Linked DNA regions of Homo sapiens: regions 1, 2, 3, 4 and 5 are each linked to region 6. Evidence: promoter capture Hi-C in 16 types of primary human blood cells and fetal thymus (Javierre and others, 2016). All regions are on one chromosome and are shown on one strand. Each heading gives the region's core, a stretch centred on a gene start or on the middle of the fragment in contact. The rest is flanking DNA. Distances are from core to core; before and after follow the strand shown. Region 1 holds the start of LOC112694756 (uncharaterized LOC112694756). Region 2 holds the start of INO80E (INO80 complex subunit E). Region 3 holds the start of TAOK2 (TAO kinase 2). Region 4 holds the start of PPP4C (protein phosphatase 4 catalytic subunit). Region 5 holds the start of MIR4519 (microRNA 4519). Region 6 holds the start of NFATC2IP (nuclear factor of activated T cells 2 interacting protein).

Evidence for each region. Contacts are between HindIII fragments. The CHiCAGO score rates a contact against its expected background, and 5 or more counts as called.
Region 1: a contact is called between a fragment that was not itself captured here and the fragment with the promoter of NFATC2IP in region 6, in 1 of 17 cell types (fetal thymus). The highest score is 5.7, in fetal thymus.
Region 2: a contact is called between a fragment that was not itself captured here and the fragment with the promoter of NFATC2IP in region 6, in 2 of 17 cell types (fetal thymus and total B cells). The highest score is 9.8, in fetal thymus.
Region 3: a contact is called between a fragment that was not itself captured here and the fragment with the promoter of NFATC2IP in region 6, in 1 of 17 cell types (fetal thymus). The highest score is 5.4, in fetal thymus.
Region 4: a contact is called between a fragment that was not itself captured here and the fragment with the promoter of NFATC2IP in region 6, in 1 of 17 cell types (total B cells). The highest score is 7.5, in total B cells.
Region 5: a contact is called between a fragment that was not itself captured here and the fragment with the promoter of NFATC2IP in region 6, in 1 of 17 cell types (total B cells). The highest score is 5.2, in total B cells.

What each region holds. Positions count from the first base shown.
Region 1 is chr16:30,049,869-30,054,169 of GRCh38, reverse strand. It overlaps LOC112694756 (uncharaterized LOC112694756), which reads right to left and starts at 1,019. Exons shown (of 14, transcript NM_001365304.2): 1 at 953-1,019; 2 at 671-706. The coding sequence starts at 676. It also overlaps a transcript of TLCD3B not described here. RefSeq lists an enhancer at 1-616. The HindIII fragment of the contact is 1,085 bases long and covers 1,147-2,231 here.
Region 2 is chr16:29,995,499-30,000,289 of GRCh38, reverse strand. INO80E (INO80 complex subunit E) reads right to left here and starts at 4,049. Exons shown (of 7, transcript NM_173618.3): 1 at 3,899-4,049; 2 at 3,673-3,743; 3 at 3,430-3,482. The coding sequence starts at 3,979. HIRIP3 (HIRA interacting protein 3) reads left to right here and starts at 4,673. Exons shown (of 7, transcript NM_003609.5): 1 at 4,673-4,749. The coding sequence starts at 4,685. RefSeq lists enhancers at 3,966-4,095, 4,156-4,325. The HindIII fragment of the contact is 354 bases long and covers 3,024-3,377 here.
Region 3 is chr16:29,971,031-29,975,631 of GRCh38, reverse strand. TMEM219 (transmembrane protein 219) reads right to left here. Exons shown (of 6, transcript NM_001083613.2): 5 at 4,054-4,224; 6 at 2,584-2,682. The coding sequence ends at 4,087. TAOK2 (TAO kinase 2) reads right to left here and starts at 1,764. Exons shown (of 16, transcript NM_016151.4): 1 at 984-1,764. It overlaps LOC124903762, which reads right to left and starts at 2,010. Exons shown (of 2, transcript XM_047435036.1): 1 at 1,852-2,010; 2 at 997-1,635. The coding sequence starts at 2,010. The coding sequence ends at 997. RefSeq lists enhancers at 674-803, 510-1,281 and a silencer at 1,705-2,074. The HindIII fragment of the contact is 537 bases long and covers 2,061-2,597 here.
Region 4 is chr16:30,074,395-30,078,697 of GRCh38, reverse strand. It overlaps PPP4C (protein phosphatase 4 catalytic subunit), which reads right to left and starts at 2,704. Exons shown (of 9, transcript NM_002720.3): 1 at 2,604-2,704; 2 at 2,223-2,383. The coding sequence starts at 2,320. RefSeq lists enhancers at 2,091-2,180, 3,803-3,982 and a silencer at 2,291-2,430. The HindIII fragment of the contact is 182 bases long and covers 1,941-2,122 here.
Region 5 is chr16:30,873,063-30,877,373 of GRCh38, reverse strand. It overlaps MIR4519 (microRNA 4519), which reads left to right and starts at 2,051; the gene lies at 2,051-2,108. It overlaps MIR762HG (MIR762 host gene), which reads right to left and starts at 1,914. Exons shown (of 3, transcript NR_110942.1): 1 at 1,888-1,914; 2 at 1,256-1,344. It also overlaps a transcript of BCL7C not described here. RefSeq lists a silencer at 1,142-1,201 and enhancers at 1,522-1,571, 1,602-1,811, 1,121-1,875, 2,082-2,341, 1,876-2,630 and 1 more. The HindIII fragment of the contact is 2,091 bases long and covers 564-2,654 here.
Region 6 is chr16:28,948,666-28,953,052 of GRCh38, reverse strand. NFATC2IP (nuclear factor of activated T cells 2 interacting protein) reads right to left here and starts at 2,116. Exons shown (of 8, transcript NM_032815.4): 1 at 1,655-2,116; 2 at 849-921. The coding sequence starts at 2,041. It overlaps NFATC2IP-AS1 (NFATC2IP antisense RNA 1), which reads left to right. Exons shown (of 2, transcript NR_186408.1): 2 at 1-151. RefSeq lists silencers at 1,661-1,780, 1,921-2,020 and enhancers at 1,740-2,240, 2,260-2,794. The HindIII fragment of the contact is 4,735 bases long and covers 1-4,176 here.

The DNA.
Region 1 (4,301 bases), core at 440-2,939, 1.1 Mb before region 6:
GTTTGTATTTTTAGTACAGAGGGGGTTTTGCCATGTTGGCCAGGCTGGTCTTGAACTCCTGATCTCAGGTGATCCGCCCGCCTCGGCCTCCCAAAGTGCTGGGATTCCAGGCATGAGCCACCGCACCTGGTCAATTTTTTTAGAGACAGTGTCTCACTCTGTCACCCAGGCTGGAGTGCAGCGGCATGATCATGGCTCGCTGCAGCCTCGAGCTCCTGGGCTTAAACGATCCTCCCACCTCAGTCTCCTCAGTAGCTGGAATTACAGGCGACAGCCACCACGCCTGGCACTTAAAATTTATGTCAGTGACAAAATTCCCAATTTAGCCCTGCCTACCTCTCTCCCTCCCCCTCTTCCAAACACACGATAGCCCTAGCAGTTCCCCAAATGCTGCAGCCTCCCTCTCACCCCCAGACTGTTTCCTCTGCCGGAAATGCCTTTTCTCGTGGATTACTTAGTCAACTCCTTATCTTGCCAGGAATACCAGAAATGTGCCCTCCCGTGGGAAGTCCATTCCTGGACTCTTCCTGACAGCTCTCGTCCTGAGCTGGCAGGTTGTAGTCTCTGTTGGGTAGAAGCCCCCTCCCCAGTCCGTGCTGGAAGACAGGCCCATTCGGGGTTAGGAGAGGGCGCTGAGGGGGCCCAGAGAGGGGAAGGGGCCCGGACTTACGTCCATGGGGAAGGGCAGAGCCAGTCAGTCCGGGAGCTGCAGAAGGAAGGTTCTGGGTCTCAGAGGCTGAGAGGCACCGTTAGACCGGGGTGCCCACCCTCCTTCCCTTTCCTGTTTGGGGAAACTGAGGCCATGGCTGGGCCGGAGGGTGGAATTCGGGAAGGGGAATGGGGGGCGGGGGATCCGAGGCGGCGCCTTCCTCGCAGGCTCCAGCGCGCCCCAGGCCACTCCCCTCCTCAGTCCCCACACTCCGGGCTTCCCCAGTCGGTCAGCACCCATCACCTGCACCCTCGGGCCGCGGGCAATTCACGGATTCCGCGCCAAGCTAGGTCCAATCGTCCGAGGGACCGGCCCCGCCCAGAAGCCGTTCGCGGCATCCCGCTGTTGCCATGGTGACCAGAGCGGTGTTTGTACGGCGGCTGCCGAGGCCCAAACTCCCTCTTCCCGCCTCGCGCCTCCCTCTTCCCGCCTAAGCTTCAACTGTCACCGGCTCTGCGCCGCCGCGGCCCTCGGGGCTTTCTCGCGGGGAGCGAAGGGGAAGAGCGAATCCCGCCGCCGCCCGCCTGGGTCGGATCCTCATCAGATGCCGGACGTTGGAGGAGGCACCGGGTTCTGGGGCGCCACAGGAGGATTGAACCCCCAGGCTACACCCACCACTTGGATGTATCTCCGGCCAAGCCACTGAGCATCTGCAAAAGGGAGAAACGCCTGCCGCTCAGGGATATTGTAAACATCAATGCTACTTTTTATATTTTATTTATATTTATTTATTTATTTATTTATTTATTTATTTATTTATTTTTGAGACGGAGTCTCGCTCTGTCGCCCAGGCTGCAGTGCAGTGGCGCGATCTCGGCTCACTGCAACCTCCGCCTCCCGTGTTCAAGTGATTCACCTGCCTCAGCCTCCCGAGTAGCTGGGATTACAGGCGCGCACTACCACACCCGGCTAATTTTTGTATTTTTAGTAGAGACAGGGTTTCGCAATGTTGACCAGGCTGGTCTCGAACTCCTGACCTCAAGTGATGCGCCCGCCTCAGCTTCCCAAAGTGCTGGGATTATAGGCGTGAGCCACCGCGCCGGGCCCGGTTCTTTTTTACTGATTTATTTATTAATTGATTTATTTATTTTTTGGAGACAGATTTTCGCTCATCTCCCAGGCTGGAGTGCAATGGTGTGATCTTGGCTCACTACAACCTATGTCTCCTGGGTTCAAGCGATTCTCCCGCCTCAGCCTCCCGAGTAGCTGAGATTACAGGCGACTGCCACCACGCACACCTAATTTTTGTATTTTTAGTAGAGACGGGGTTTCACCATGTTGGCCAGGCTGGTCTCGAACTCCTAACCTCAGGCAATCCCGCCCGCCTTGGCCTCCCAAAGTGCTAGGATTACTGGCATGAGCCACTGTGCCCAGCCTTTTTTTCTGAATTTTTAGAGATGTGGTCTTGCTATGTTGTTAAGGCTGGTCTTGAACTCCTGGGCTCAAGCAGTCCTCCAGCCTCAGCCTCCCAGGTAGCTGGGATTACAGGCATAAGCCACCTTCAGTAGGATCTGCTGAAGCTTCCTGAACCAGTGTGTAGGGTCTCACATTTCCACAGCTTTGCAGTTGCTGATCCCTCTGCCTGGAACACCCTCTGTCTTCCCCTCAAACCTCTTCCTCATCCCTCAAGCACGTCCTCAGTTTTGCCTCTGTGAGGTCTCCCTGCCAACCTCAGGCAGAGGTGGCTGCTTTGGACTGTGAATTCCCACAGCATCCTACAGATACTGTTGTTCTCGCACTTCTCACAAGATACTTGAATTCCTCACTTCCATGTCTGGCTCCACAATTAGACTGCAAGTGTCTGGGGCCTGGTCTGAGTCATCTCCGTATCCTGAGCTCTAGTACTTGGCCTAGCCCTGGGAGCCTTGGTGAATACTCACTGATTCTTTTTCTTTCTTTCTTTCTTTTTTCTTTTCTTTTCTTTTTTTTTTTTTTTTTTGAAACGGAGTTTTGCTCTTGTCGCCCAGGCTGGAGTGCAATGGTGTGATCTCAGCTCACTGCAACCTCCGCCCTGGATTCAAGCAATTCTCCTGCCTCAGCTTCCAGAGTAGCTGGAAGTGCCACCATGCCCAGCTAATTTTGTATTTTTAGTAGAGACGGGGTTTGTCCATGTTGGTCAGGCTGGTCTCGAACTCCCGACCTTAGGTGTTCTGCCCGCCTTGGCCTCCCAAAGTGCTGGGATTACAGGTGTGAGCCACTGCGCCTGGCCTGTTTTTTTCTTTTAATAAAGTAGACATGGGGTCTCACTATGTTGGCCAGGCTAGTCTCCAACTCCTGCCTCAAATGATCCTCCCACCTCGGCCTCCCAGGTTGCTGGTATTACAGGCCAGAGCCACTGCACTCAGCCAATACTCACTGATTCTATGAATGAATTGAAACCAAACACCATCCACGAATGAAGCATTGTTTTCCACACGTCCTAATTTCCTTGGCTTTCAAGGCACTCAGACCTCCCCGTTTCATTCCTAACCTTTTTAGATCACACACACACAGACACTTGCACACACCCACACATGCACGCTCACACAAGCACCCCTCTCTATGGAGGCCTCCGACTTCCTAAACGATGGCTGAATCCTGGCATTTTCCCCTAAAAACAATGCCACCATATACCTATTTTTGTCCATGTTCTCCACCCCAACATACCTCACCACAGCTGCTGCTCCTGGGGTTTCCTACACCATGAGGCAGCCACGGAAACTGCCAGGGGCTGTGTCCCTGGATCCAAATCTTCCCTCCCACTGTCAACCATACTGAGGTGGTCTCAGCCACCCTCTTGGCCACCCCTGGCCCTCTCAGAGGGCGTTTCAAGCCCAGAAAACAGAAGTCTAGCTGTTGCTAATGTCACCATTATTGATCCTAAAGAAGATTGTCTTCTTAGGCTGTCTTCCGGTTTTTGTTTTTGTTTTTGTTTTTTTTGAGACAGAGTCTCACTCGGTAGCCCAGGCTGGAGTGCAATGGCACAATCATGGCTCACCACAACAGCCTCGACCTCCTGGCTCAAGGGATCCTTCCACCTCAGTCTCCCAAGTAGCTGAGACTACAGGTGCATGCTACGACACCCAGCTAATTTTTAAAATTTTTTGTATAGACGGGGTCTCACTGTATTGCTCAGGCTGTTTTTGAACTCCTGGGCTCAGGCGATCCTCCTGCCTCAGCCTCTCGAATTGCTGGGATTACAAGCGTGAACCACTGTGCCCGGCCTTGGGCGGTCTTATTGTCTGATGGAATCCTGAGGACCAAGTTGAGGCCAGTTCTCACCTCAGCCCTACAAAAGGCCTCCAGGAACACATATTCTGCATATTCTGCCAACAGAGAGACTTCAGCCTTGGCAAGGCCCCTGGACACGTCCGTGGCCTGCAGTGCCCAGACTCGCTGGTGCTGGTGTTTTGTTCCTACCATGGGCTCATACATTATGCAGGAGCACGGGCAGTGCCCCAGGCTTGTGTGTTGCCAGGCAAGCCAAGACAAGGGATGATGTATGCACCCCACTTTGCCAAGGCCCCATTTCTTTTCTTTCTCTTTTTTTTTTTTTTTGAGATGGAGTCTTGCTCTGTTGCCCACGCTAGAGTGCAGTGGTGCGATCTCAGCG
Region 2 (4,791 bases), core at 1,951-4,450, 1.0 Mb before region 6:
AGGGAGGCCCATAGCCTCTCCAGCCTCCCCAGCCCCCCGCCCGCTCTGGTTCCTCCGTAACACACCTGCCACGCATGGCCAGGGTGCCAGGCTCTTTCCCACTCACCACCTCTCCTTGTCATCAGATCCAAGGAAGGATGGGAAGGGCAGCACCTCCACTTGTCACATGAGGTCACCGAGGCTCAGAAAGTAAGGTGTGAGGCTAAGACTCCAAGCCAGGTCTGTGACTCCTTGGCTGTTTGATGCCACTGGTTCCTTGCCTCTGAGCTGAGCAGTCTTCAACTCCTGCCTCTGCCCCACTCCCCATAACCAGGGTCCTGTTCATCTACCCCTGAAGTCCTCCCCTTCATCCACTGCTCCCCACACCAACTAACACAGGTCAGGCCACCAGCACGTCAAAATCACCTGCTAAGCAGTCTCACCTCACCGTGCCACCCACTGTCCACCCCCAACCCCAGAGTGACCTAAAACAAACCTGGTCACATCCTTCCTGATGACATCACCCACTACCTGCATGAATTCATGGTGCTGCTTAATCTGGCTTCAATGTACCTTTCTGGTCAACTAACGTAACTGTATTCTTTAAAGCACACTGACCTATTTCGTCAAAAAAGAAATGTATTTCCTAGTTCAGTGCCTCTGCCTAGAAGGGCCATCTTTCATCGAACAAACGACTGCTACACCTATAGAAGCCGTTACCAATGTCTCTGCTCAGACAGACCCTTTAAGAAGCAGATTAAATGCCACCTCCTCTGTGAAGTCTTCCAGAATCCCTCAAGCCCAGTTAACTGCAGGCTCTCCTGGAACGCTCTACTCTCGTCATGGCTGCCCTCACACTGTGCTGAAAAGCGTCGTTTGCGAGTGTCTCCCTGGCCAGGGCGTGGGCCTCCAGGACGGGAGTGGGGCTCGCATCGCTGGCTCTTCCTCCTCAGATGCAACCCACTCTGGCCATGAACATGCTGGGTTCTCTCCCACCTCCTGCCCTGAATTCCCCTCAAACAGGATGTTAACTGGAAGCCCCTAGGGAAGGAAGAGGCAGGGGATGAGAGGCTACAATAAAAGCCAAATCTCCTACTATGACCTACCTGAGTGGGCCCCTGCCTATTTCCCCAACCTTATCTACAATCCTCCTATAATAACAAGCAAATGGGTATCATGCGTTCTGACAAAACACTACGTCCTAAAACGTGGCTGGCTGCCACATGCCAATCCCTGCCTCAGACCAATGTGCTTTTTTTTTTTTTTGAGACGGAGTCTTGCTCTGTTGCCCAGGCTGGAGTGCAGTGGCGTAATCTCGGCTCACTGCAAGCTCCGCCTCCCGGGTTCACACCATTCTTCTGCCTCAGCCTCCTGAGTAGCTGGGACTACAGGCGCCCGCCACCACACCCAGCTAATTTTATGTATTTTTAGTAGAGACGGGGTTTCACCATGTTAGCCAGGACGGTCTCGATCTCCTGACCTCGTGATCTGCCTGCCTCGGCCTCCCAAAGTGCTGGGATTACAAGCGTGAGCCACCGTGCCCGGCCCAGACCAATGTTTAAAGGCACCACGGAGAGAGGTGATTCTACGTGACATGGCTTACGAGGGCCTCACCCAGGAAGAGGCCCACAAATGCCTACCTTAGGGCTTTTTCAAACTGTGGGTCTCAAGCCATTAGTGGGTCATGAAATCAATTTATTGGTTTGCAACCAGCATTAAAAGAAGGGGAAAAAAGCAGTCTAAAAAGTGTCAGGATGAATTGGATACAGTGATCTTAAAAATGTTTCGTTAAACTTTGTTTTGTTTAACATGTGGGGCCCTGGTTATGATGTAAAATATAGTTAACTGCAGACAATATTCAAATAAAAGGACGAAAACAGTGTTCTCTCTCTTTCATGCCTCTGCTCTTCAACCAAGCCTGACCTGTTCTTACCTCAGGGTAGCTGCATTTATATTATTCTGCCGGGACAGCTCTAGCCCACTTCTTCACAAGATTGGTTTTTGTTTTTTTTTTTTTTTTGAGATGGAGTCTGGCTCTGTTGCCCAGGCTGGACTGCAGTAGTGCAATCTCAGCTCACTGCAAGCTCCACCTCCCAGGTTCACGCCATTCTTCTGCCTCAGCCTCCCGAGTAACTGGGACTACAGGTGCCCACCAACATCCCCGGCTAACTTTTTGTATTTTTAGTAGAGACAGGGTTTCACTGTGTTAGCCAGGATGGGGTTTCTTTCTTTTGAGACAGTCTTGCTCTGTCACCCAGGCTGGAGCACAGCGGTGCTATCATGGCTCACTGCAGCCTTGACCTTTCAGGCAAGGGATCCTCCTGGTTCTGCCTCCCAAGTAGCTGGGACCACATGTATACACCACTATACATGGCTAATTTTTTTTTAATTGAGATGGGGTCTCACTATGTTGCCCAGGATGGAAGGCTGGTTTCTTCTCTGGTCCCAACTCAAATGTCACTCTGTGAAAGGCCTTTCTTGAGTACTCCATTCAGAGGTTGCCTGCTGCCTGCTTGTGTGGTCTGCAAGCTAAGAAGGGCGTTTTTTTTTTTTTTTGAGACGGAGTCTCGCCCTGTCACCCAGGCTGGAATGCAGTGGCAGCGATCTCGGCTCACTGCAACCTCTGCCTCCAGGGTTCAAATGATTCTCCTGCCTCAGCCTCCCCAGTAGCTGGGATTACAGGTGCACGCCACCACACCCGACTAATTTTTGTATCTTTAGTAGAGACGAGGTTTCACCATGTTGGTCAGGCTGGTCTTGAACTCCCGACCTTGTGATCCGCCCACCTCGGCCTCCCAAAGTGTTGGGATTACAGGCGTGGGCCACTGCACCTGGCCAAGAATGGCTTTTAAGCTTTTAAACGGTTGGAAAAAAAAAAAACTAAAGAAAAATTTTTCATATGGAAAAATATGAAATTCAAATTTCAGTGCCTATAAAGTTTTATAGAAACATAGCCATACTCATGTATTTGCCTATGGGGTACGGCTGCTACTACAATGGCAGAGTTCAGTAGGTGCTTCAAAGATTGTATGTTGCAAAAAGCTTACTTACCATCTGGCCCTTTGCAGAAACAATTCATCAACCCCTGTTCTACTATAATCATTACCGCATAACTGTTTTCATTACCTTCAAGTCCTTCCTATGACCTAAAATTCTAGTCTATTGTCTTCATTTACTTATTCTTCCCAACTAGAATATAAATTACAAGAGGCCAAGGGCTTTGCCTATCTCTGCCTCTGCTGTATCCCCTGTGCCAAGCACAGTGCCTGAAACACAATAGGTGCTCAGTAAGTGCCTGAATGAAAGAACGGTGGAGGTGGAAGGCAAGCAACTAGGCTTAAGGACCACTGGGGGCTGCATCAGCCACCACTGCCTAAAAGGCGGGGGCCCAGGAAGCTTGCTAAGTACCAGGAACCATGCTCTCCACCAATTTTTGAAGACCTTGCTCACCCGAAGAGTCTTCATCCACGTTCTCGTACTGCAGAAGTCGGTCTAGGAGGAAACTGAGGGGAGGGAAGGAGACACGGACAGTGATTTTCCAGCGCAGCAATGTCCTCCTGGGTACCTGTCCCTCCCAGCTGGCCCATCGGATACTTGAAAGAGCCCATGCACTTGTGGCCCTACTCGGGGATGGGGTCCGAATGTAGATTTCCTAGGAAGCACATCGCCCTCCGCCCCTGCAACGTGCCTCACCTCTTGTCCCGGGACACCTTCAGTAATTTCCTTTGCGCTTTCCTCAGCTCCTCCTGGAAGCACTCGTGCTCCTGTATCACGGGCAAGGGGTGCGCTGGGCCAACGGTCCTCCGTGAAGGGCCCCGGAACCAGCGGCCGCTCGCCCCACCCACTTTACACCTGGGTAAACTGAGATCTTGTCCGCGCCAGGCCTCATCCCCCACAGCCTTCCCGCGGCAGCACTCACGTAGATGAGGAACTTGAGCTTCCGCTTCAGATTCCGGTATTTTTTTTTGTAGTCCACTTCGCCGTCCGCCGGCCCGTTCATGACCGGCCCGGGAGTGGCGCCCAGAGTCTGCCCTCCCGCTACCCCAAGCAGTGGCTGCCGTGCCGCTCCCGCCTCCACTTCCGGAGACGCTGCAAGGCTGTGCCGTCAGGACTACAACTCCCGGCGTACCCCGCGCTCAGGGGCGTCACCGCACGGGCCGACCTCCCGGGGGACACTGGGACAGGAGCGCGGCAGCCACTGCGCTGGGGATGGCGTAGCAGCGACGCGGTGACGCCACAAAAATGGCGGACGCTGGAAAGCGCCGTTCCTGACTCTAATGTACTTAGACACTTGAAGCCACAAAAGGATTTATCCCCGAGGTTCCTCATCTGCTCGCGAGGATGCCTTTTCTCTTCTGCCTTGCGAAATAACAGCAGCCTAGCTGTTGCCCGTGACCAGTGAGAAAGGCAGCGTCGCGGGCTGATTAGGTTTCACCCAAAGGGTGCCGGCGCCGAATTGGTTTCTAACGAGAACTTTTAAAATGATCCGTTCCAAAAAAGGGTAGGAGCCGCGAGACCCTCCAACTGCCCAGAGAAAACAAGTCTCGTCTGGCAAAGTTCTCGGCCCACGCGGTCCGCGGCCAAGGGCCAACGGTCCCTCGCCCCACGTTGCCGCAGCACTGCGCGTGCGCGAGCCGCTGTCAAACGCGCTGACGGAGGCCGAGAAGAAAAAAAGGCGGGAGCCGTCAATCCCGGGTTGAGCAAAATGGCGCGGGAGAAGGAGATGCAGGAGTTCACCCGTAGCTTCTTCCGAGGCCGCCCGGACCTCAGGTGCCCAGGGGGTTGGAGATGGGGTTGGAAAGGGCGCGGGTG
Region 3 (4,601 bases), core at 1,080-3,579, 1.0 Mb before region 6:
TAAAGATGAAGGTCACAGTGGATAGAAAACTCCATGAGGCAGAGGCAAAAGCCAGAGGCTCCCATCAGGAAAAGCTTCTGAGTAGAGCCCTCCTGGAAAGGAAGCTCATCTCATCCCCATTCTTAAACCTCACCCCAGCCTGGACTCCTAGGGACCCCTGGCCGAGCCCAAACTCAGAGGAAAAGAGATGGCAAGAACCAGGCATGCATCAGGGAAAGATGTGATTGAGGACTTGAGTTCAAATTCTGGTTCTGCCACTGTGTGACCTTGGGCAACCTCTCTCGGCCTCAACGTTCTCAACTGTAAAATGGGAAGATGCCAATAAAAGAGGCCCCCACAGGGTGAATGCGGGGATGTCACATGAGAGAATGGCTGTCAAAGCACTTTGTAAAAGACAGATCGTTTGACAAATGGATGAGATTATTGACACCATCACAGCAAGAGGTTGGAAGGTAACTGCAGCTGGGGGAAAACATTGCCAGGCACCTCCAAGCACACACACACACGCATACACACAAACACATATACACACACTTCCTTGCAAGGACAAGAAATCCAACCAGACCAGGCCTGAAAAGCAGATAAGCAGACCCACCATGGGAATCAGAGGCATGGGAATCAAAACCACAGAATAGCCAGGAGAACGGGACATATCAGGGAGGAGAGGTGGCTGTGAGGGGCAAAGTGAAGGAGAGAAGACTGAAGTGCAAATCCATCTGATTAGCTGAAGCACCCTAGGGTGTGAACGCCGGTGACATCAGAGACCCTGTCACCTGAGGTCCCCCACCAACCAGACACAATGAAGGGAAGAGGAAGGGGAAGGGGGTGGCAACAGAAGGCAAGGCTAGCCAGAGGCTGACCACTCGCTCAGCTGGGCTTCCCCATCCTGAGAGGGCCTACCCAAGTCCAGCTTCTCAGAAAGGCGCACCCTTTCTTCTCAGAACTAGACACAGGGACCCGCGCCCCTGCACCCCGTGTCTCACCTGGTAGGGGTCACTATGGTGCCCCAGCGCCTCCGCTTCCGCCTGGGGTCCTCCAGCGGCTCTGCCAAGCAGGGAGAGGGGCAAGGAGACCTTTCCCCTTGCCACCTCTTCCTCGGCTTTCGCCCTTCCTGAGGGGCGGGCCCGGGAAGCCTCCCCTGGAGGGGAGGGGGTGACAACCTAATCTGACCTCGCGGTCCAGTCCTCCCCCTCGTCGAGGGCGACAGCTGCCGAATTCCGGATTTCTGATTGTGGGGTCTGAACCCCGAATATCTGAACGGGATGGAGACTGAATCCGATATTTGAACGCCCGGGGAATGAACCCCGGATACTGGTGCACGCAGGGGCCTGAACCTGATATTTGAAATTCTATGAAACAGAGACCCAGGTTTAGAGAGGTTGGGACCCGAGTCCCGGATATCTGGACTATGAGGACTGTTACCCGGGTATCTGAGAAAGGAGGAGGGGCAAAGCCTGGAAATTTGGGACCCAGGGGCCTGAGCTGTAGGTCTTCGGCCACCGACTGGGGGCCCACCCCGAGGACGTCCGGCCGCACGGCCCCTCTCACGCCGGGGTCCGAGGGTGACAGCCCCCACTCCCGCCCCGGCCTCCTCCCTCTCCCTTCTCTCTTCCGAGAATAGCTGAACGATTGTAGCTAAGGTGCTGCTGACGGTCCCCGCGCCCTCTCTGCCTCTCCTCTTCTCCGTCTCAGCCTCTCTCCGCACCACAGCCCCGGTCTCGTCCCGGTCTCCCTCTCCCTCTTCCTCCCAATTCCAAGATGGAGACCGGGCGGGAGCGCGCAGGCGCGGTAGGGACGCCGGGCTAAAGGGGGCGGGGGCGCAGAGGACTCAGCCCCGCCCTCTCTCCTCACTGCCGCGGCCTGGGAGACCGGCAGCCGCCAAGCCCGAGTGCGCGCCCGCCCCGCCACGCGGACCCCAGGCCGGAGGAGGCGGGGAGAAGAGCTAGACTTGCAAGGGGAGGAGCCCGGCACTCTGTCCCACGACTGGCGGTGGACAGAGCTGCAGCGCATGCGCTCGCCCCGCCTTCGCTCTGAGCCCGAGCTTGTTGCTAGGGGAAGCTTTGAGGGGGCGCGGGTGGACGGACAGCAGCGGCGATCTGCGACTGCGCGCAGGGTGGAAGTTGGGAGGGGCAAAGGAAGCTGCTGCTGGGCGCGGAAAAGGCGGGAAAATAGACTGCTCCGAGGTTAGCAACCATCTAACCTGGAAAAGGGCCTCCAAGTGCGAGGAATCTTTGCGCGTCGACGCTGGGAAAACTCAATCGGTCAAATCTCTTACGGAAATTGAGGCGCTGCAGGTTGCAAGACTTGCCAAGGTCACAGTGCATTTATGTCACAGCATTTCCATGACCTGACACCCCACCCGCCCAACTAACTGTAATTATCCATTTTATTTCGTAGAAGAAAACAAGACAGGTGTTTACCAAAGCCAAGTCAACCATGGGGAGAGCTCAAGTAACCTATGCCCTATGCCAACCTGTGTCCAAACTAGAGAGTCAACAGGAAAGAGTCCCCCAAAACTTCTAAGCCTGCCTACCCTAAAATCCCCACCTCAATCCAACCCCCAATAAACACCATACACGCCACTGGGCAAAAAAGCTTTTTATTTTCCCCCACATTCCAGCTCTTCACTTTTTCTAAAACCTTTTCCAACTCAGAGCCAAGGCCCAAGAAGTTGATTCACACCTGGGGAGAAAGAAAATAAAACAACAAAACAGGTCGAAGAGCTGCTAGAGGAAGCTCTGAGATGTGTGCAGAAATTGAGGAAGGAGCAGAGGGAGTGACAGCTAGAGACCAATACGGGCATTTAATCCCAACTAAGGTAGCCTCAGGACCCCAGGGTCTGTCAGGGGCCAGGAAGCCCTCCTTTCCCAGTCCAAGGTTGAGAGGGTCCTGTCATTTCCTGTCCCAAGTAGGTGGTTGGGGCATTTAGGCCCAGCCATCAGCAAAATAAGCACAGTTGATCTTGAGCTTCCACTTCCTCTGGCCTGATCAGTTCCCTGGGCCTCAACTATTTCCACTTTTCCCATAGTAACTTCCTAGGGCACTGCAGCCAGCTGAAGCTGAGACCAGTTCAAGAGCTGGATGCATAACACATGGCTCTCAAATTTCATGCACCCCCCTCTGACAAGTGAAGATTTTTTGCAGAAATATTTTTTCCTTTAGTGAGCTGATGTGTGAACTGGTTAACCAACATGACCCCCACCCACTGCTACGTTTGTGAAGCTGATTCCCTCCAAAGATCTTGTTAACGGAATCAGCTTTTTCTAAAGGTAACGATGACTAAATGGAAGACAGAAGGTGCATGTCAAGTTCTTGGGCACATACTATGTCCCCAGTAAATGAGTATCATCAGTTAGACTCTTCTGAGCGGTTCAAGTTGAATTTTACAAAATTTCCATCATAAAACTGGGTATTGGAATTTCAGGACAAAAGCAAGACAAACATGGTTCATATTCAGGACAAATCATCAAATGTGAACCCTCTTAACTCACCATTGTTACCCAAATGCTTGGATGTGAACTAGTTATGAGTCTTAAAATCACAATGTTGCTTGAAAGAAGTCAGCCACAAAAGAATGTGTATGATTCTGTCTACATAGTTTCAAAAATAAGTAAAACCAAACTATATTATTTAGGAATACATACATGGCAATACATTATAAAGCAGGACAGTAATTTCTAGGGAGAGAGAGGGCATTGTCAGGAAGGAAGGGACCATGGGGGGTTTCTGGACAGCTGGTAATATTCTACTCAGTGGTATTTATAAGTATCCACTTTATAATAATTTGCCAAGCTGTCCTTTTATACTATTGGACTTTTCTACATAAGTGTTAACTATTTTATAATAAAAAAGTTAAAGTAATTAGAAAAATATTGAATGCTGACGGTGTCAAATTGTTCCCAGTCCCTAAGGGAGAGCTGTGGTTGAAGAGGTTCTCGGGGACTCAGAAGCAGCAGTCTTTGAGGAAAAGTCCAAGGATCTGCTCTACCCCGGTTACAACCCCCACCCCCACCCCATTCCCTGCTCCCGCAGGACTGGAGCAAAGAACCTCACCTGAGAAACAAGTCGGGAACTAGGCCAGTGCCCTCAGAGCCGGGTTCTAGACCAGTGGGACTCCCGGCGCGGGTGGAAGCACATAGCAGTGACACAGCAGAGAAGGCCACAGAAGAGAAGCAGGAAGGAGCCCAAGACCAGCAGCCTGGAGCCACACAGAGCCAGCTCCTCCTAGGGAGGGGTACAGGGAGAGGAGGAGGAGGACATGTTAATCCAGTCCAAGGGCTATAGAAGGAGCCTCCATGAGGGAGAGGGCTCTCCACATCTAGGGAGCAACTGAAGGGAAAATGTTATTTTCATATAAGCTGACATTTGTCTTTTTTTTTTTTTTTTGAGATGGAGTCTTGCTCTGTCGCCCAGGCTAGAGTGCAGTGGCGCGATCTCAGCTCACTGCAAGCTCCGCCTCCTGGGTTCACGCCATTCTCCTGCCTCAGCCTCCCAAGTAGCTGGGACTACAGGTGCCCGCCACCACGCCTGGCTCATTTTTTGTATTTTTAGTAGAGACGGGGTTTCACCGTGTTAGCCAGGATGGTCTTGATCTCCTGACC
Region 4 (4,303 bases), core at 782-3,281, 1.1 Mb before region 6:
AGCTCAGACACTGCGGACCTCTGTGCTTCCACTGGTTTCATCTGCATGTCTGTGCCCTCTAGGCAAGCTGGTGCTCTTGACACCACCAGCCTCAGCCTGGGTCTCTGATGGGTCCCCAGGAGGCCATAACCAGGTATCAGAGATGGCCCTGCTTCAGACTGAGCCTGGGACAACAGCGGCCAACTCAGGCCTTGGCCTAGTACCTCCTAGTTCCACTCAGTTTCAACTGGGCAGGACCCTCCACCCCTCAGCCTTCCATGGCTTCCTGCTGCCTCACACCCCACATCAAAATCTAAATGCCTCTGCCTGGCTCTCAGTGACCACGGAGCACAGTCAAAGACCTGGATGCAAAACTAACTTCCCCTCCGACTAGCTGCGTGATGTTGGGCAAGACATTATCTACTCAAAGGCTCAGTTTCCTCTGCTATGAAATGGGGCTAAGTACTCAGCCCACCCTGCGTATTCCTTAGGCTGTTGCAAGGAGCCATGGAGACTGAATATACGACTTCCTGCTATTCTGCAAACTCCAGCATGCTATCTAAGCTTTGTCTACCATCACCACCACACTGATCCAGGGCCCGTGAGGGAGACAATACTTCGAGGTTAAAGAATAGTGCCAGGCAACAACAGGTTTAAGTTCCTAAAAATGCCAATCAGGACTGAGGGAAAGGGGACAACTAAAAACACCATGGGGCTGGTCTGGTCAGCTGGCAAAAGAGAAAAGCCACAGACAGGTGGCGAAAAAGAGGCCGACCCTGCTCATCATCCCCTCACAGGCCCTGTCTGGCTGCAGGTAGTCTATGTGAGGCAGGGCCAGGCAAAGAGCCTGAGGGCCACAGATTCAGGACCCAGCTCTGCCACGTCCTCAGTGGGTGACCTCAGTTAAGTCACCAGACCTCTACGAGTCATGGCTTCCTATTCGATAAAATGCAGCAAATGATTCCAACCTCATAGGATTGCTGGGGGGAAGAGATGGATAGAAGTTTTTTGCCAGTACCGGGCCAGGCCAAATAGTGGCCCTGTAAAGGCCAATGTTTACTGTTCAATAAACGTAGGGTAATTCTGTGGGCTCTTCTGCCACAATTCTCCAGCCTGGTAGAAGCCACAATCACACAGTTCCCCAGAGGAGGCAGGTAATTAAACCCCTGACTGTTCCCCACGCATCTCAGGGCCTCCACTGTTACATTCGTCCTGCTTGGAATGCCCTTCCCTCACTGGCCCTGCCTCCATCAGCTAGCCAAATTATCTTCATCCTTCAAGGCCTACCTCCACTCAAAAGCCCTCCCTGATGGCTTTAGCCCATCTCATTATTGCCCTCTTCCAAAAGAAATAGAATACCTGGTGATTATCAAGCACGTATGCTGTACCAAAACACTGTGCTAACCTCATCTCCAGCACCAACTCACTGAATCTTCACAATCATCTTATTAAGTACTATTAATTCTGCTTTACAAATAAAGACACTTAAGATTACTAACACAGCTAGAAAGCGGCAGAGTTCAGATTCAAACCTAGAGCCATCTCACACTGCAAAACCTAGAGCCTTAACCACTACATCATCCTACTTCCCACAGAACTCTGAACTGGCCTCCCTATCGTGCTTAATTCTACCCTGGCTTACTTGCTACGATTTCTCAGGCTCCCACCCTGAACGTGAATGATCCAACTCCACCTTTTTGCATTATGGCCTGAAAAAGGACAGGACACTAAGAGCTGGCTTCAGACCCCATTCCTTACTTGTGGGTAACTTTGAACATGAAAGTTCCCACCTGTAAAATGAGTACAATACCACCAATCTTTAAGGGTTGTTGTAATTAGAAGACTTTTATAAATCACAGGGTCTTTAACTTTCCTGTCTTAAACTTTTGGTTTTTGGCTGACTCTTTTACCACCTCCTTATTCGAGGCCTCTCCCACAGTTCGGCCCCCCTCCAACAAGCTTCCGTCCCCCGACAGATGGACTTGTTTCCTTGAGTTTCCTAAGTACTTTATGTAACACTCTTACTCCACTGGAAACACATCGTCTAATAAACTTTAAGTGTCTTTATCCACTCTGTCTTCCCCGAGCAGGCTAGCTTTTCCTCGAGGGCAGCGGCTCCATCCTGCTCCTCTCTGGGAAAGCTTCCAGAACGAGGCAAGCCCAAAGTTCTCAGTTGGGTTTGCCCCAGGCCAGAACCCGTGGGCGGCGGCTTGGCCTCCCTTCCCCAGGGCCAACGAGCTCACCTGGCCTTAGCGCACAGGGCCTTGACTTCGCTCTCCTTGATGAGCTCGCAGCGACGCAGCTGCTCGATCTGCCGGTCCAGGTCGCTGATCTCCGCCATGGCCCACCCCCGGCGCGGGTCAGAGTCGGGGCCGCCGCCCCCTCCGCACCGCACAGGGGTCTCCTGGGAAAGGCCAAGACGAGCCCGCGGATCAGTGTCCGTCCGGGGCTCGGAGCGGACAACTCGATTCTAGAGCCGGCCCGGCTCCCCCACCCCCGCCTCCCCTCACATCGGCCCCAGGACCCCCCGGCGTCCAACGGCCTGGCCGCACCCCCGCTAACTCCCGTCGAACCCCGCGGTCCCGCGCTAAGGACGGTGACTTAGAGGAGTCTCGCACTATTACCGCCGCTGCGACTCCGGTTCCGGCTCTCCGGCTCCCTGCCTCCCTCTTTCACTCCGCTTTCGACCGCCGCCGCCGCCGCCGCCGCCGCTCCTACTTCCGGCCCCGCCGCGGAAGCAAAGGAGGCCAGTTCCGCCGCGCGCCGGATGTGGCGTCATACACGCTCCTCTCCTTTCGCAGCGACCCCTGCACCACTTCTCCAGCCTGAGATCGGGAAGGAGGTGGAGGAACCCGGTGGCGGCCAGTGGCAGTTTTGTGGGCTCTGCCGCTGGGCGATGTGGAGGCTATTAGAAACCCTAGACCAGTCCCCTCCCATATCATTTCATAAAAATGTTTAAACAACTGTCTTTTCTTTTTTTGAGACGGAGTTTTGCTGTTGCCCAGGCCGGGGTGCAATGGCACGAACTCGGCTCACCGCAACTTCCGCCTCCCGGGTTCCAGCAATTCTCCTGCCTCAGCCTCCTGAGTAGCTGGGATTACAGGCATGCGCTACCACGCTGGGCTAATTTTGTATTTTTAATAGAGACGGGGTTTCTCCATGTTGGTCAGGCTGGTCTCTAACTCCCTACCTCAGGTGATCCGCGCCCCCACCCACCACCACCCTTCGGCCTCCCAAAGTGCTGGGATTACAGGCGTGAGCCACCGCGCCCGGCCACAACTTTCTTTTTTCTAAATTAGAGACAGGGTCTCGCTCTATCGCTCAGGCTGGAGTCGGTGGGGCTATCATAGGTCACTGTGACCTCGAACTCCTGGGCACAAGCTATCTTCCCGCCTCGGGCCTCCCAAAGTGCTGGGATTACAGGCGTGAGCCACCGCGCCCGGCCATCCCCCATTTCAGCTAGGGAAACAAGCCGAGCTGGGGCTAGGCTTTGTAACTTTATTACACTTTTTTTTTTTAACATTACACTTTTTTTTTAATGTTACACATTTTTGTTACTTGTTTTGTCAGCCTTCCCCACCACAGTCCTTGGAGGATCCAACTTTGTCTTTTTAAATATTGCAGCCCCAGTGGTTAGAATAAGGCCTGGCACGGTAGGCATATATAGATACTTGTTAATACTTGTTCAATGGATGAGGGAAGCCAAGTTCAGATCTCTTCCTGTGCCGTCAGAGAAATATTTGCCGTGGACAACTTCAGAAGTTAACAGATTGGAGTCCACTTTTCCCACGCCAAGCCTGTGCCTCAGTCAGCATGACTTCTCTGATTCCAAAATGGCACTCTTGACATTTCTTAGTTGCTTCCGTTTTTCTTTTTGAGACAGAGTCTCACTCTCTCGCTCTGTCGCCCAGGCTGCAGTCCAGTGGCGCCATCTCGGCTCACTGCAAGCTCCGCCTCCCGGGTTCACGCCATTCTCTTGCCTCTGCCTCCTGAATAGCTGGGACTACAGGCGCCCGCCACCAGGCCCGGCTAATTTTTTTGTATTTTTTAGTGGAGACGGGGTTTCACCGTGTTAGCCAGGATGGTCTCGATCTCCTGACCTCATGATCCACCTGCCTCAGCCTCCCAAAGTGCTGTACCACAGGCGTGTACCACCGTGCCCGGCCTCTTTTTTTTTTTTTTTTTTTTTTTTTGAGACGGAGTCTTGCTTTTTCACCCCGACTGGAGTGCAGTGGCACAATCTCGGCTCACTGCAACCTCCGCCTCCCAGGTTCAAGCGATTCTCCTGCCTCAGCCTCCCAAGTAGCTGGGATTACAGGCATGT
Region 5 (4,311 bases), core at 360-2,859, 1.9 Mb before region 6:
CTGCTTGAGCCTAGGAGTTGAGGCTACAGTGAGCTATGTGTTGCTACCCTTCAACCTGCGCGACAGAGCAAGATCCTGTCTCTACCAAAAATAAAAAAAGAAATCTGGACTCCAGCTACCCTTGAAAGCAGATATTCTGAGATACTGAGTTTGCCTCCTGGAGTGGTCATGGGGCGGAGGTTGGTGGGGTAGGGGGGTAGGGGGTGCAGAACACTGACTGCCCTGGGGGCGGAGTCTCTGCCCTTCAGTCCCCGCAATCCCTACCGCTCCCTGGTGTTCCACTCTCCTCCTTGCTGTTCACTTGCATGGCCTCCAGGCTAATGGCTGAGTTTTGCGGCCAGGCATTTCAGGCCTCCCAGCCTTGGCCTCTGCTCACCTTCTCCACCTCCTCACTCCCTGCTCTAGTCATCTTCATCTCATGTCCTGCCCTCCAGCCACATGGGCTTCTTGGTCCCTTCCACACCTGTTTTTGCCCATGGAGTTCTCCCACCAAGTTCCTTATGGTAGAAAAGCCCCTGCTGGATTTGGCCCCTGCCCACCTCTCCTGCCCCTTTCCCCAAGCTTTCTTCCAACTCATGCATAGAACTTCTACCACAAGGAAGCTGGCCAGGCTGTTAGCACTCCCGTTCCCTCTGTCTGTGAAGCCCTTTCCTTCCCTCCACCCTCCCCTTCTCTCTCTTATCTCAGGCTTTGGGTTTGATTTCACCTCCTCCAAGGTTCCCTGACCTTCAAACTAGGTCAGGTCCCTGGTTAGTCACTATACTTCCTCTTTCTCACCTCCTTCATCTCACTTCCCCTGCTAGAATAAGGCCACATCTGTCTCATAATCTCTGTCTTCCTAGGGCCTAGTGTGGTGCCTGGCATACAGTAGGTGCTCATTAATGATAAATGAATGAAAGCAAGCACATCTCCCTTTCTCTACTGGCAAAATCCTAATCCTTTTCTGGTTACATTTCTCCTGTAGCATCCAATTCTGTTCTCGAGACCCAAAAGATCCCTGAGGTCCTGTGATCAATGGAGTTTTAGCTCAGGTCCATTTCACAGTGGGCCCAGGGGATCCCCAGATTCATCCGTGGTTATTTCCCCAGGCACAGAGTGAGTGCACTGGTGGCACAGGCATACCCAGCAAGTGGCATAATCCCCCCCATTAGTTAACTGGGTGTCGCTGTGCATGGCTGTGAAGGCAGGGATGCACCTGGCTGGTGACCCCAGAACCCCTCCGGGTACGGCACAAGGGCAGAGCCCAAGAACTTACTTTCTGTCCTCTTGCATTTGCCTGTGGATTTGCAGTTGGTAATGGCGTTCTTGCCCGGCCCTCCTTTGTTCCTCCAGGCAGCCAGGCAGCTGTGGCGTAGTGAAAGGGCAGGATGCGGGATAGGAATGGAGTTATTCCTGATTCAGACTGATTTGCTCTAACTGTGATTTGGGGCAAGTCCCTTCCCCTGTCTAGACCTTAGCTGGCTGCCGCATCTAAAAAATGGAGCCAATAATCTTTTCCTCGTCTTTGGGGTCATCCATCTTTCAACCACATCAGGAGCAGCGGGAACCAAGTGCAGAGGATGGCCTTAAAAGCAGTATGGGAACCAAATTTTTGTAAAGTAAATATTTTCAACCTTTATATTTTGGAATCACCAGCGGTATTTATTACGTGCACTCTAGGAAATGGAGGCAATGCAATGCCAAAAACAGAAAGTAAAACTGCTGTCCTGTGCCGCGGCCCGGTGGAGGTTTTAATGTCTGTATCTTAAGATCTGGTGAGGGCACGGGTAGGTGCGGCTGGACTGAGTGAAACCAGCCCCGCTGGGCGCCTGGGCCCTTGTCTCAGGGCTGTGCTCGCAGTGGAGGCATCTGCAGCTCGGCACCCAGAGGCCCCGCGACCCTTCCAACCTTTGTGACGCTCCGCGGAGACAAAGGCCGGCGGCGCAGCCTTGGGAAGGGTTAAGGCCACAGACGCAGCCCTGCGCGTGCTAGAGCGGCCGGTGGCGGACTTCCGGTTGGGGCGCGGGCGCGCGCCGCGTGTTCCCGACCCGCCGAGGCTGAGACCTCGGGCAACCTCAGCAGTGCGCAGGGCTGCACTGTCTCCGTCTGCGGCCTGCAGTAAGCGGGTAGGGGATATGTCGCGTGGCCTCGCCTGGTCTGCGGCGGGAAACTCGCATCTAGGCCAGACCCTCCCGCAGGGTCCGCACTCGCGATCTGGGCTGTGGGCAGCATCGTGGCCCCTCGGGGCGTTATAGGGGCGTGAGGATCCCGGGCGAGCTGGGGGCGGGCGGCTTCTTCAGCTCCCTTGCGCCATGGAACCCACTGTATGCCCGTTATGCAGTCAGGAAAGATGAGGCCGGGAAGGAGGGCGTTACGCTGCAACCCCGGAGACCAGCTGTCCCTCGCGTTGCCGCAGTCGGCAGAGGCGTGGCCGGAGCCATTCCCGGTCTCCAGTGCGGCTGCAAGAGCGGGCGCCCGAGGGCGTTCTGCTCCGGGCCTCCACCCGCGAGCTGACCGTGTCAGGCGCGCCACACACGGCGCTTCTCATTCTCTCTCCACCTCGCGAGGCAGAAGCTGCCGTTCCCGTGTCACAGACAGAAAAACAGTCTGGGGTGATTTATCCGGAGTCAAGACTCAGGTCTGTGGCTCAGTCGGGAAGGATAGAAACCCAAGCTTCCTCCGAATGGTTCAGAGACCCGACCAAGTTAAATAATAATGGCCCTGGCTCAGGGGTCTTTAAGTCTTCCCCCCGCCCTCCCCTTTTGTTTTTGTTTTGTTTTGAGACCGCCTCACTGTCCCCCAGGCTGGAGTGCAGCGGTGCGATCTCCGCTCACTGCAGCTTCGACCTCCCGAGGGCTCAGGTGATCCTCCCACCTCAACCTCAGGAGTGTCTGGGACTACAAACACGCGCCACCACGCCCGGCTAATTTTTCTGTTTTTTGTAGAGTCAGGATCTCGCTATGTTGTCCAGGCTGGTCTGGAACTCCTGGGCTCAAGCGATCCTCCTGCCTCGGCCTCTGAAAGTGCTGGGATTACAGGCATGAGCCACCGCACCTGGCTACCCTTTAATTAACTCAAGGAGTTTAATAATTGAATTTAGGCTGGGCTCAGTGGCTCACGCCTGTAATCCTAGCACTTTAAGAGGCCACGTCGGGCAGATCACTTGAGGTCAGGAGTTCAAGACCAGTCTGGCCAACATGGTGAAACCCTGTCTCTACTAAAAATACAAAAATTAGACGGATGTGGTGCCACACACCTGTAATCCCAGCTACTCGGGAGGCTGAGGCAGGAGAATCCCTTGAACCCGGGAGGCAGAGGTTGCAGTGAGCCAAGATCGCACCACTGCACTCTAGCCTGGGCCACAGAGCAAGAATCTGTCTCAAAAAAAAAAAAAAAGGTTTGACACCTATACCTTCCTCTGTGTGTGTGTGTGTGTGTGTATACATATATCTATATATATATGTATATAGAGAGAGGAGGAAAAATTATATAATTTTTCTATATGTGTGTGTGTGTATATATATCTGTACAATTTTTTTTTTTTTTGAGACAGTGTAGCTCTGTGGCCCAGGATGGAGTGCAGGGACTCGATCTCGGCTCACTGCAACCTCCGCCTCCCAGGTTCAAGCGATTCTCCTGCCTCAGCCTCCCGAGTAGCTGGGATTACAGGCTGCTGCTACCATGCCTGGGTAATTTTTGTATTTTTAGTAGAGACAGGGTTTTGCTATGTTGCCCAGGCTGGTCTGGAACTCCTGAGCTCAAAAGTGATCTGCCTGCCCCAGCCTCCCCAAATGCTGGGATTACAGGTCTGAGCCATCACACCCGGCCCATATATACGTATTTTAAAATAACACCTTTACTGAGAGAGATGACTCACACACCATACAACTCACCCATTTAAAGTGTACAGTTCAATGATTCTTAGTATCTTCACAGTTTTGCAAATATCACCACAGTCAATTTTAGAACATTTTCATTACCCCTAAAAGAAACCATACCCATTAACAGTAACTCCCAAGCCTTCCTCCCACTACAGCTCTAGACTACTGCAAATCTACTTTCTGTCTCTATAGAGTTGATTATTTTGGACATTTCATATTAGGGCTTTATGTGGCCTTTTTTGACTGAGATAACCTTTTTGTTGTTGTTTTTAACAAAATCAACTCCTTGAGCTCAGAGCCCTGGCCTATAATCATAGCCAGCTAGAACTGAACAGCATTGTTTTGGTTTTATTGTATCTATTTTTACCACTCTTGGGTACATGATAATTTCTCATTTATGGCAGTGGTTAAAGTTTCCTTTTGAATACACCTAGTTCCATCAAAACGTGAG
Region 6 (4,387 bases), core at 867-3,366:
TTAAGAGATAGAGCTGAGGCCGGGCACAGTGGCTCACGCCTGTAATCCCAGCAATTTGGGAAGCTAAGATGGGCGGATCACCTGAGGTCAGGAGTTCAAGACCAGCCAGGCCAACATGGTGAAACCCCATCTCTATTAAAAATACAAAAAATTAGCCAGGCGTGGTGGGAATTAGTCAGCTACTGGGAAGGCTGAGGCAGGAGAATCGCTTGAACCCAGGAGGTGGAGGTTGCAGCGAGCCGAGATCGTGCCATTGCACTCCAGCTTGGGCAACAAAAGCGAAACTCTGTCTAAAAAAAAAAAAAAAAAAGAGAGAACTGAGATTCAAACCCAGGCCAGATGGCTCCTGTTTGCTTTTAATCACCCCACTGTACTCCCTCATGGTACAAGAGTCTTGGTCCAAGGTCTCCATTTGCCCACTGGATTATTTCCTTATTAGACTAGATTCCTATTCCCCGCCCTTGAGTTGTTTGCAAAAAATGCATCAGTGGGGGAGGACAAAGACAGGGCATCCCTGATAAGATTCAGAGAACACCCTGCTGGCTCCAGTGTTCCCAAAGAACTTGCTGCAGATGTAACAAGATGTCACAGATTCTCAACACCTTACCGCCTCCTGCCCCGCCCAGGACTACAGAATCAGCATCTCTTCAGGTGGCACCAGAAATGTATACATTAATACATTCTATGCTTGTTAACAATCCAGCTCCTGTGGCTGGGATGCAGGAGTCCCCTCTCCCACGCTCTTCCCTTGAGCCTCAGGAGACAACTGACTGCAGGAATATAAACCCCAGGAATTCTCTTAAGAGAAGCCAGCGGCTGCGTGCCTCTCCCTGGAGGCCCTCCCTTACCTTCCTCATCCCCTGGAGGGTAGAGTTTCAGGAGGGATAGATCATCTGGGATAAGGCGAAGGCTGCTTTTAACCTGCAAAGACAAAGAAGGGAGAGGGGTCAGGCCCAAGTCCTTCCCCTACCGAAAGAAAAAATTGGGGGTAATTCTTCCCTGACACCCAGCTCCCAAATCCTCCCTAAGATCGTGGACACCTTGGCCCTCTCCTGGCAACCTAGAAGTCCAGCTTCCCCAGGATTCAGAATGGAAGTACCCTTCACCCTTTCCTCCATCTGCCTAAGACACTCTGAAATGTATGCTTCCTTGCCCTTTTTAACTAGGTTACTAGCCGCCCCTCTACCCCTGACTCTTAGGGACTCTCAGCCCATTGCTCACACGACCATCGGGGGACCCCAGCCTCTGGAGCCGCCCAGTCCTCTCTGAACCCGCATGGACCCCAACCCCCAATACTGCAGCTCCCTGGCTTCATTTGCCATGGACCCCAACCTCAAAATCCAACGGCCCCAGGTCCTCCCAGTCCCTCTCCAAAATCTCAGGAATCCCAGCTCTTCAGCCTCCCTGTGCCCCCAAGACTCTAGCTCCTAGGAATCCTAAACTTCCAACGCATCCCACCCTCCTTCACCACCCCAGTCTGCAGAAAGTCCCGGAGCCCTGCCTCTCCCTGCCTCCAACACCCTAACGCCCGAGGACCAGCCCCAGAACGCCAGCCTCAACACCCCTATAGCCCTACCCTCCCCGAACGCCGGCCCCTCCCTGGAGGCCAAGCCCTTGGCCCTTCCGCCGGTCCCCTCCCCGGGACCGGGCGCACCTTCCCCGAGTACACCGGAACCAGCGGCGCCTCCCCCGGATCCAGCACCAGCCGCCGCCGCCGCCTGACCGGCTCCCGCGGGGGTCCTGCGGGCCGCCTGTCCTCCCCTTCGCTGTCACTGTTGCTGTTATCCCGGGACGCGACCGGCCCCGGGGGCTCCGGGGGCTCCACCTCAACCTCGTCCGCGGCACCGCGAGCGGTGGCGACCTCCAGAATTTCCTCATCGCTGTCGGTGACCAAGTCCACAGACACTACGTCCAGCGTGCCCCGGGATGGAGACCGCTGGGCCCGAGGACGCCGGCCCCGACCGCCCCAGCCGCCCCGACCCCCTCGGCCGGCACCGCTACCTCCGGACCAGCGGCCCCGCTTCCCCACAGGCTCCGCCATGGCACACTTTCCTCCACAACACACGCCCGCCTCCTCTCGCCTCGCCCCGCCCCCTTCAGCGACTTTCGCCTTGCATTGGACAAACAGCCTGCTCGTCAGCAACTCTTCGCGCCCCACGCGCGGGATCCGCCTTCCCGCCTTTTCATTGGTCTCTGTACCCGCTCATCATGCGCCCACCTCTGAAACCAAGGCGCCAAAGATTCCAATCACCTCGGCACAATCACCGTAGCTTTCGATTCAGTCGGCCTCACCCATTGGCTGGGCCACCTCTCCACAGACGAGCCTCTCCCGGACCCGCCCAACCAAGACAACCGTCTTCCGGCTTGGTTAGTCGCAGGGCATCCTGGGAAATGTAGTCCTCGAGCGGTAAGGTTTCCGGGAGAAGGAAGGCGGGCCTGGAATTCCCTGTGGAAACCGCGGATTTAACCAGGCGCGGTGCCTCACGCCCGTAATCCTGGCACTTTGAAAGGCTGAGGCGGGCAGATTGGTTGAGCTCAGGAGTTTGAGACCAGCCTGGCCAATGTGGCGAAACCGCGTCTCTACTAAGAATGCAAAAATTACCCGGGCGTGGTGGCACCCCTCTGTGGTCCCAACTACTCAGGAGGCTGAGGTGGGAGTTTCGCTGGAGCCCGGGAGGCGGAGATCGCACCACTGCACCCCAGCCTGGGTGACAGGGCGAGACCCTGTCTCAAAAATGCTTTAAAGAAATAATAAGGCTGGCCGCGCGCGGTGGCTCACGCCTGTAATCCCAGCACTTTGGGAGGCCGAGGCAGGCGAATCACGAGGTCAGAAGTTCAAGACCAGCCTGGCCAACACGGTGAAACCCCGTCTCTACTAAAAATACAAAAATTAGGCGGGCGTGGTGGCGTGCGCCTGTAATCCCAGCTACTCAGGAGGCTGAGGCAGGAGAATTGCTTGAGCCCGGGAGGCAGAGGTTACAGTGAGCCAGATCCTGCCGCTGCACTCCAGCCTGGCCGACAGAGCGAGACTCTCTCTCAAAAAAAGAAAGAAAGATAGAAATAATAAGGCTGGGCGTGGTGGCTCACGCCTATAATCCAGCACTTTGGGAGGCCGAGGTGGGCAGATCACCTGAGGTCAGGAGTTCGAGACCAGCCTGACCAACATGGTAAAACCCTGTCTCTACTAAAATACAAAAATTAGACAGGCGTAGTGGCAGGCGCCTATAATCTCAGCTACTCGGGAGGCTGAGGCAGGAGAATCGCTGGAACCCAGGAGGCAGAGGTTGCACTGAGCCAAGATTGTACCACTGCACTCCAGCCTGGGCAACAGAGTGAGACTCCATCTCAAAAAAAAATCTTATGTATTTATTTATTTTTAAATTTTATTTTATTCATTTATTTAATTTTATTTATTTATTTATTTTGAGATGGAGTTTCGCTCTTATTGCCCAGGCTGGAGTGCAATGGCTCGATCTCGGTTCACTGCAACCTCTGCCTCCCAGATTCAAGCAATTCTCGTGCCTCAGTCTCCAAGTAGCTGGGATTGATTACAGGCGTGCACTACCATGCCCAGCTAATTTTGTATTTTTAGTGGAGATGGGGTCTCACCATGTTGGTCAGGCTGGTCTTGAACTCCTGACCTCAGGTGATCCACCCCCCTCCGCCCCCGCCTTGGCCTCCCAAAGTGCTGGGATTACAGGCGTGAGCCACTGCGCCCGACTATTTATTTTATTTTTTTCTTTTTCTTGATTCGGAGTTTTGCTCTGTTGCCCAGGCTGGAGTGCAATGGTGCGATCTCAGCTCATTGCAACCTCCACCTTCAGGGTTCAAAGGATTCTCTTGCCTCAGCTTCCCGAGTAGCTGGGATTACTGTTGCCTGCCACCTTGCCCAGCTAATTTTTGTATTTTTAGTAGAGACGGGGTTTCACCATGTTGCCCAGGCCGGTCTTGAACTCCTGACCTCAAGTGATCCACCTGGCTCGGCCTCCCAAAGTGCGGGGATTACAGGTGTGAGCCACAGCACCCAGCCTGGCATATGTAAATCTTCATGATGGCTACATAAGCCACTTGCCAGTCTCCAAATTCAGGAATTCAAGGACCTGGGAGCCCTGACGAAATGCCGTCGTCAAGGCAGTTAGCTCTCTTGTCTCCCATTTCCCCTAGGAGGGAAAAGCTTGGCTTCAGTCTTGCTCCAAGATGCAGGCTACCTCCTGTCCTAAAGATATGAAAAGTTTGTGTCTACTCACCCCTACCATACAAGCCAATTCAATAACACAGGTGGTCACCCCACTTACCATCATAAAGTTAGACTGGGGCCAGGCGTGGTGGCTCACGCCTGTAATCCCAGCACTTTGGGAGGCCGAGGCGGGTGGATCACTTGAGGTCA